Regions from separate parts of the Homo sapiens genome. Here all the other regions are linked to region 3. The links are contacts of gene promoters, found by promoter capture Hi-C in human tissues and cell types (Jung and others, 2019). All regions are on one chromosome and are shown on one strand. The core of a region is centred on a gene start or on the middle of the fragment in contact, and the rest is flanking DNA. Distances in the headings are between cores, read along the strand shown.

What was found. The method cuts DNA at HindIII sites, captures the fragments that hold promoters and counts their contacts. A contact is called where the count stands out against the background at its distance.
Region 1: a contact is called between a fragment that was not itself captured here and the fragment with the promoter of PGF in region 3, in 2 of the 25 tissues and cell types used here (aorta and pancreas).
Region 2: a contact is called between a fragment that was not itself captured here and the fragment with the promoter of PGF in region 3, in 1 of the 25 tissues and cell types used here (thymus).

Annotation. Positions count from the first base shown.
Region 1 is chr14:75,179,591-75,182,502 of GRCh38, reverse strand. No RefSeq gene overlaps it. Among named protein-coding and RNA genes, the nearest start is that of TMED10, 4.4 kb to the right of the region's middle. The HindIII fragment of the contact is 5,531 bases long and covers 1-2,912 here.
Region 2 is chr14:75,128,934-75,131,633 of GRCh38, reverse strand. TMED10 (transmembrane p24 trafficking protein 10) reads left to right here. Exons shown (of 5, transcript NM_006827.6): 5 at 1-165. Among named protein-coding and RNA genes, the nearest start is that of NEK9, 3.2 kb to the right of the region's middle. The HindIII fragment of the contact is 3,127 bases long and covers 1-2,700 here.
Region 3 is chr14:74,954,106-74,956,882 of GRCh38, reverse strand. PGF (placental growth factor) reads left to right here and starts at 1,286. Exons shown (of 7, transcript NM_002632.6): 1 at 1,286-1,715. The coding sequence starts at 1,641. RefSeq lists silencers at 1,140-1,239, 1,420-1,489. The HindIII fragment of the contact is 10,779 bases long and covers 1-2,777 here.

The DNA.
Region 1 (2,912 bases), core at 413-2,912, 230 kb before region 3:
TACTAAAAATACAAAAATTAGCTGGGCTTGGTGTCGTGCTCCTGCAGTCCCAAGTCCCAGTTACTCGGGAGGCTGAGACAGGAGAATTGCTTGAATCTGAGAGGCAAAGGTTGCAACGAGCCGAGATTGCGCCACTGCACTACAGCCTGGAGGACAGAGCACGATTCCATCTCAGAAAAAATAAAAAATCTAAGGCTGGGCGCGGTGGCTCACACCTGTGATCCCTGCACTTTGGGAGGCCGAGGTGGGCAGATCACCTGAGGTCAGGAATTCGAGACCAGCCTGACCAACATGGAGTAACCCTGTCTCCACTAGAAATACACAATTAGCCAGATGTGGTGGTGCATGCCTGTAATCCCAGCTACTCGGGAGGCTAAGACAGGAAAATCACTTGAACCCTGGAGGCGGAGGTTGCAGTGAGCTGAGATTGCACCATTGCACTCCAGCCTGGGCAACAAGAGTGAAACTCTGTCTCAAAAAAATAAAAATAAATAAAAAATATAAAAATAAAGTCATGGAATTGTATGACATCACCTGGAATGCAGCAGAAGTTTCCAGGACCAGGTCCTGGGGGACTCTAACATTTAGAAGACCCATTGAAGAGGCCCTTGGAATCACTCTCTGGGTCAAAGAGTATGGCATGTGGCAAATATTGCCAAATTGCTCTCCAAAGGGGTCTTTTGTATCCTCACAAAACCCATCTTGTCTTAGCTATGTAAACACACACTCCATGTGGTGCTATACACATGAGTAGGCAGGAACAACTAAGTCAGGAATCCTTGATGGCTTCTGCATGGAGCTGGGGAGTCTCAAGCCACACTGCAGGATTAGGCTGGTGCAAGGAGGTGTCAGGAAAGGGTCTAAGCACTCCCAACCACAGAATCACTAAGCAAGCTTGTTACAAATGCAGATTTTTCTTTTTTTCTTTTTTCTTTTTTTTTTTTTTTTTTTGAGACATGGTCCCACTCTGTCACCCAGGCTGGAGTGCAGTGGTGTGATCTTGGCTCACTGCAACCTCTGCCTTCTGGGCTTAAGCAATCTTCCACTTCAGCCTCCAGAGTAGCTGCGACTACAGGCATACACCACTATGTCCAGCTAATTATTGGTATCTTTTGTAGAGATGGGGTTTTGCCATGTCACCCAGGCTGGTCTGGAACTCCTGGACTCAAGCAATCTGCCTGCCTCAGCCTCCCAAAGTGCTGGGATTATAAGCGTGAGCCACTGTGCCCAGCCCGAATGCAAATTTTTAGTAAGAGCTTCTGATTCACCATCTGGGGTGAGGTGTATTTTAAACATGCCCCCTCTTACACAAAGGAAAATTTGAGAAACCTATGGCTTAGGGATAGATTGGCAGAGGGTGTCTTCATGATATTTCTTCACCTCCAGAGGCTCCAGTGGCTCAGGAATCTTAGGTGGATTTGGCTGGGGAAGTTTCAGGATGACAGGACGGCAGAAGACTGCTGGCCAGAGAGAAGCATTTACTGTAGTTATGGGACACTTTCCATTTGCTCTCCAAGTCAAATGAGGCCTTTCTACCATGCAGATGTAAAACGGTATCTTTTTTTTTTTTTTTTTTGAGTTGGAGTCTCGCTCTGTCGCCCAGGCTGGAGTGCAGTGGCGCAATCTCAGCTCACTGTAACCTCTGCCTCCTGCGTTCAAGCGAATCTCGTGCCACAGCCTCCCAAGTGGCTGGGATGCAGGCGTGAGCCACCACACCCAGCCAATTTTTGTATTTCTAGCTGAGATGGGATTTCACCATGTTGGCCAGGCTGGTCTCGAACTCCTGACCTCAAGTGATCTGCCTGCCTCAGCCACCCAAAATGTTGGGATTATAGGCGTGAGCCACCGCGTCTGGCCCAATGGTAACTTCTTTTTTTTTTTTTTCTTGAGATGAGTCTCGCTCTTTCGCCAGGCTGGAGTGCCATGGCGCAATCTCAGCTCACTGCAACCTCCACCTCCCAGGTTCAAGCAATTCCCCTGCCTCAGCCTCCCAAGTAGCTAGGACTACAGGCACGTGTCACCACGCTGGGCTAATTTTTTGTATTTTAGTAGAGACGGGGTTTCACCATGTTGGCCAGGATGGTCTCCATCTCCTCCTGACCTCATGATCCGCCTGCCTCAGCCTCCCAAAGTGCTGGGATTATAGGCTTGAGCCACGATGCCCGGCCGGTAACTTCTTTAACACAGGTGCAGGCTTAAAAGTCTTGGTTCCATTCCACAGCATACAGAGGAGAATTGTTTTTGTTTGTTTGTTTTTCTGTGTCCTTATATAGAAACAAGAGTGTATTTTCCATTTTTTTTAAGAAAAGATAGACATGTTGGTGACACTGAAACTGTACCTATGCTTTAGATACATTATGGATTAAACAAATTTATGTGAAAACAGCTAAAGAATAATGGGAGAAATTTGTGGTTGCGCTTTCTAAGGTACCAGTCTTAAATTCATTGTACCATTATTTATTGTACCTAAGTGCTAGGCACTGTTTTAGGTTCAGAAGATAAAACAGTGAAAAAATAGATAAAAATCCCTGCCCTCACAAAACAGACATTCTAGTTAGGGAGACAGACTAATAAACACAATAAGTAAGTAAAATGTATGCTTTATTTGATAGTAATGAGTGCTAAGGGGAAAATTATAAAGGAGGGAAGAAAGACAGGAGGTGTTGGAGGATGGGGATAAGTAAGACTACAGGACAAGAAAGGACTGGAAGCCGGGCGCAGTGGCTCACACCTGTAATCCCAGCACTTTGGGGGCTGAGGTGGGCAGATCGCAAGGTCAGGATGTTCAAGACCAGCCTGACCAACATGGTGAAACCCTGTCTCTTCTAAAAATACAAAAATTAGCCGGGCATGGTGGTGCGCGCCTATAATCCCAGCTACTCAGGAGGCTGAGGCAGGAGAATCACTTGAAC
Region 2 (2,700 bases), core at 148-2,647, 170 kb before region 3:
GCAGTTTAAGTAAGCCTTGTTATACCATTGTCATGGACCCCTGTCATAAAGCCATTTCTTGGTTTGTTTGGGAAAGAGGCATATGGGATTTATACAGATTCACTTGTAAATGTTGGATTGGGGATTTTTGTGTAAATTTTCTCAAATAAAGGCTAGCAGAAACCATTTTAGGTGTACTGTTACTCTTGAGTACTTCTATGTCTGGATTGGTGATAATTCTTCCATATTTCTCTTTTAAATTATGGCAAATTATACCTGATGAATTAGAGAAAAAATATTGTTATTCTTCAGTTACTGCAGATCGATAGTTTATATGAGCTAGTAAAAGATTATCATATTTTGTATGTAATATATGTAAATTATATATATATATATAATTAAGAATCCTTAATTATGCATCCTCAGACCAAATATGGTTCTGTAAGCTAGGCATTTTATTCTCTTTATCTTCTCTCTTTTGGAAACTGTTACTATTAGGTTCGCACAAAAGTAATTGTGGTTTTTGCAATTAAAATTGCAATTGCATAGAATCACTCCTACAGAGAGCCATCTCCCCTGCCTTTCATTCCTAAAAGACCCCCACCCCCCACCCCCGGTATATGAATCCTCAGGACTCACTTTTTAGGCCTATCATATCCAATGCAAAACCCCACTCCAGGAGGTAAACGTCTTTTCTCCTCTCCTTTCACTTACAGTTGAACATTTTTCACAAAGCGACTTTCCAAGAGCCAATATGAAGTGCTTTGCACACCCACTGGCTGGCCTCTTATTTATCCTCTTATCTCCATTCTCCCTCAAATAAATTTTATTATGAATCCATAGTGTGTAAAGTAGTGGTTCCCATTATTGGGGTATAATTTTTTTTTCTTTTCTTTTTTTTTTTTTTTGAGACGGAGTTCACTCTTGTTGCCCAGGCTGGAGTACAATGGCATGATCTCGGCTCACCACAACCTCCGCCTTCCGGGTTCAAGCAATTCTCCTGCCTCAGCCTCCCGAGTAGCTGGGATTACAGGCATGTACCAGCACGCCCAGCTAATTTTGTATTTTTAGTAGAGATGGAGTTTCATTATGTTGGCCAGGCTGGTCTTGAACTCCCAACCTCGTGATCCACCCACCTCAGCCTCCCAAAGTGCTGGGATTACAGGCGTGAGCCACCGTGCCCGGCCCAATACATGCTTTATAAATCATTTATTTAGTCTGCTGCAGTGGTGTCTCATAAAATGTTGAGCTGCATGTATAATTTTAAATTTTCTAGTATCACATTAAAGAAGTAAAAAACAGGTAAAATTTGCTGATTCTCCAGCCTCCCGAGTAGCTGGGATTACAGGCACATGCCACCACGCCCAGGTAATTTTTGTATTTTTAGTAGAGATGGGGTTTCACCATGTTGGCCAGGATGGTCTCGAACTCCTGACCTCGTGGTCTGCTCACCTTGGCCTCCCAAAGTGCTGGAATTATAGGCATCAGCCACTGTGCCCAGCCGAAAATTATTTTTAGTAGTGTATTTAACCTAATATACCCAAAATATTATTTCAACATATAGTTAATATAAAAATGGTTAATGAGATGTTTTGCATTCCATTTTTCATATAAAATCTTGAAAATCCAGTGTGCATTTCAAGCTATACCGCATCTATAGCTTAAAATTAGACTAGCCACAATTCAAGTGTTGAGTAGCTATATGTAGCTAATGGCTACCGTGGCAGACAGTGAAGGGTATAAACTTGGGTTGGTCTTTGGTAGATTCTTTCATCTTGACAGTAACTCTATGGCCCCTGGGAATTTGCCATTCACAAATTGGAAACTAATGCAAAATAGCATTCTAACCATTCACTTGTTAAAGTACAATGTGGAAATAGTTTGGTTTCAACCAAAGGCGCTTTAAAATTTTACACCTTGGCCAGGTGCAGTGGCTCACACCTGTAATCCCAACACTTTAGCAGGCCAATCACTTGAGGTCAGGAGTTCGAGAACCAGCCTGGCCAACATGGCAGAATGCCCTCTCTACTAAAAATACAAAAATTAGCTGGGCATGGTGGCGGACGCTTGTAATCCCAGCTACTCAGGAGACTGAGGCATGAGAATCACTTGAACTTGGGAGGTGGAGGCTGCAGTGTGCTGAGATCATGCCACTGCACTCCATCCTGAGTGACAGAGTGAGACTGTCTCCAAAAAAAAAAAAAAAGTTATACCATTAGAATAAATGTTGACTATTTTTGAACTTATAAATATTCAAAGGTAAGACAATTAGTTTCAGTTATATCCAATATAATGAAGAATTCAGCAGGAATGTCTCTGCTCTATAATAGGACATGTTTCTTCTAGGCTTGTAGTATCTATGCATTATCATTAGAACAATTCAGTTTCAGGCCAACCACGTTATAGAAAACTAGTTCCTCGTTGCAAAGGTGCCAGAAAAAAATGAATTTTTAAGCTTAGGCTGAAATCTATTCAGCCTCTTTGAAAGTCAGCATTCCCAATTTTAAGTAATTGGTTTTTTCCCATTCAACTGAGAAACAATTTATTGAGCATCTTTTCTGTTTAACAGAGTTAATCGAGAATAACAGAATTAAGTTAATAGAATTAACAGATTTAAGCCAAACTAAACTCTGGAGTTTATCTAGATAAACAAGAGGCAATACCTATCCTCAAAGTGCCTTCTAATTAATAGGAGGATGTAGATGGAATGGCCTCTACCTG
Region 3 (2,777 bases), core at 37-2,536:
TGAGCTGTAGGGGCCACTTCCCAGGCCTCGCTCCTCCCCCACAGCCACCCACCAGCCCCAGGCCCAGCCAACTCGTGACTCCCAGTCCTGCCAGGTTCCTGCAGCCTGGGAGCTGGACACAGAAGGCAGTGAGAGGAGTGGTGGTAAAGAAAGATCCAGAACCAAGGGAGGGCACACACAAACGCAGAGAGAGAGGCACAGTCTTCACCCACAGAGACAGACACACACACGCAGAGACAGGCAGGCGTGCAGACTCACAGTCCCACCGAAAGATACACATTCAGACACTTCCAAACACACCCAGATACACAGCGGACACGAACAGATCACACAAGCATACAGAGATACAGAGAGACCTGACCCCCACACAGAGGCGTATTTGGAGGTACAGTAGTCACACGTACTCAGACCACACAGAGGCTCAGATGCACCGCTCATGGATATTCACAGACCCGCAAATGCCCATGCACACGCGCAGATGCACACAGACCCCCGCGCAGCGTACAGTTCCTCCTCGGCCAGGGACCAGGAGGAGATGCCTGAGTGAGACCACTCTCTACCACAGGGGGCTGCCCCGCAGGGAGGGCCTGGGAAGACTGCTTCCCAAGGAGGCAACAGGCCTGATCCTCCAGCCAGGTGCCCTGAGAGGTTTCCTGTGGGAGGCCCACTGTGTCCGTGCCTGGCTAGGAGGGTGGTAGGTCGGGTTAGAGTTCTGGAGTCACGTAGGCTTGGGTTTTGTCTCTGCCAGTTCCTCGGACACACAGATGCGCGCACACACACAACACACACACACTTTCCAAGAATGCCTATGTCCATTCGACATATGCAGGCAGGGGTGCTCTCGGAGCCTCGGTTTCTTCATCTATATAACCTGGCTAGGAATCCCTTGGCCCCCTAGGGGTGTGGGCATGGCTGCCTTCCCAGGCATCCCGGACGGCCCTTCCTGCAGAGGCGGTTAGATCATGAGCCTTGACGGCTGACGCTGGACTCCTGGATGCCCCCATCCCAGGTGACCGCCCTGAGAGCCGAAGCAGGGCTGTGGGCCCTGTGGGCGGGCGCGGCGCGGCCCGGGGAGCTGCGGGCTGGGCTCGGCGAGGCGTCTGGACCTGCCGAGAGCCCCTCGCACGCACTGCGGGCTCCGGCGCTGCGGGCTGGCCGGGCGCTGCGGGCTGACCGGGCGCTCCGGGAACTCGGCTCGGGAACCTCGTCTGCGGTGGGCGGGGCCGGCCCGGAGCCCCGCCCCGGCTCAGTCCCTGAAACCCAGGCGCGGACCGGCTGCAGTCTCAGAAGGGAGCTGCTGTCTGCGGAGGAAACTGCATCGACGGACGGCCGCCCAGCTACGGGAGGACCTGGAGTGGCACTGGGCGCCCGACGGACCATCCCCGGGACCCGCCTGCCCCTCGGCGCCCCGCCCCGCCGGGCCGCTCCCCGTCGGGTTCCCCAGCCACAGCCTTACCTACGGGCTCCTGACTCCGCAAGGCTTCCAGAAGATGCTCGAACCACCGGCCGGGGCCTCGGGGCAGCAGTGAGGGAGGCGTCCAGCCCCCCACTCAGCTCTTCTCCTCCTGTGCCAGGGGCTCCCCGGGGGATGAGCATGGTGGTTTTCCCTCGGAGCCCCCTGGCTCGGGACGTCTGAGAAGATGCCGGTCATGAGGCTGTTCCCTTGCTTCCTGCAGCTCCTGGCCGGGCTGGCGCTGCCTGCTGTGCCCCCCCAGGTAAGAGCTACCCCCACCTAGCCTGGCTCCCCAGACCTCCCCATCCCAGCACTGGAAGCATGGGACTCTGAAATCACAGACCCACTCCAGGGAGCAGCAACTCCAAGGATGTCCACACACTTCCTAAAGGCCAGGCTGGACTTCTTTCGTTTGGGAAGAGACCTCAGGCTGGCTGTCCCCCAGGTCCTGGGGGCTGTCTTGGTGGGGGCAGGGAAGCCACAGGGAGGGAGGGAGGGAGGGAGGTTTCCTGTCTGGCCCCTGGAGCCCTGGTGGCTTTGCTAAAAGCATCTGTCCACTAATCCCAGGCGGGTCCCTGGCCTTGTGGTCAGGGTCGAGGCCCCATGGCCAACCAGGCGTCCCCAGGACCTCTGACCTGGCCTGGTGGGGGTGGCGGAGGAGCCAGCTGAAGAAGCTGTTGGTGGGGAGGCTGGCCCTGCCCCCACCAGGGCTCAGGACTGAGCCGTGGGCTCCTGGGTGGGCTGGGGACGAGACAAGGGGTCTCGCTGTGCCTTTTCTCCTGGGTGGGTGGCCGGAGGTCCTGAGTGCAGGGCCTGGGGAAGTGAGCAGGGCCCTTTTCCCAGGAGCCGGGTGAGTCTGGCTGGGAGCCAGCTTGGGCAGTGAAATCCTGACAAAGCCAATGAACTGCCTTCCCACTGCGTTGTCCCACTGCCCTGGGAGTCCCCAGCCCCAGCCCAAGAGTAGGAGTGGGCTGGGCAGTCCCTGAGGAGTCCGAGCAGCCCAGCCACCCGCCTGCCTGCTGCAGGGCTGGCCAGAGGTGTAACGTTACCGGCTGCACCAGCTCATGGCGCCACCCGCTCCAGCCCCTCAGCTCCCACCAGCTGATCACCTCCCCCTGGGCTCTGGCACCCAGCCAAGGCGGGCTGTGCAGGGCCCAGCAGGGTTGGCCTGGGGGCTGGGTAGAAGGCAGACCCGCAGGATTGGAAGATCTTTGGGATGCAGCAGGCCAAGGGTCTCCAAAAGCTTCTAGCCTCCCATCCTTTTCCAAATGAGGAAAACTGAGGCCAGAGAGGGGTGGGACCTAACCTACCCAGGGTCCAGTGA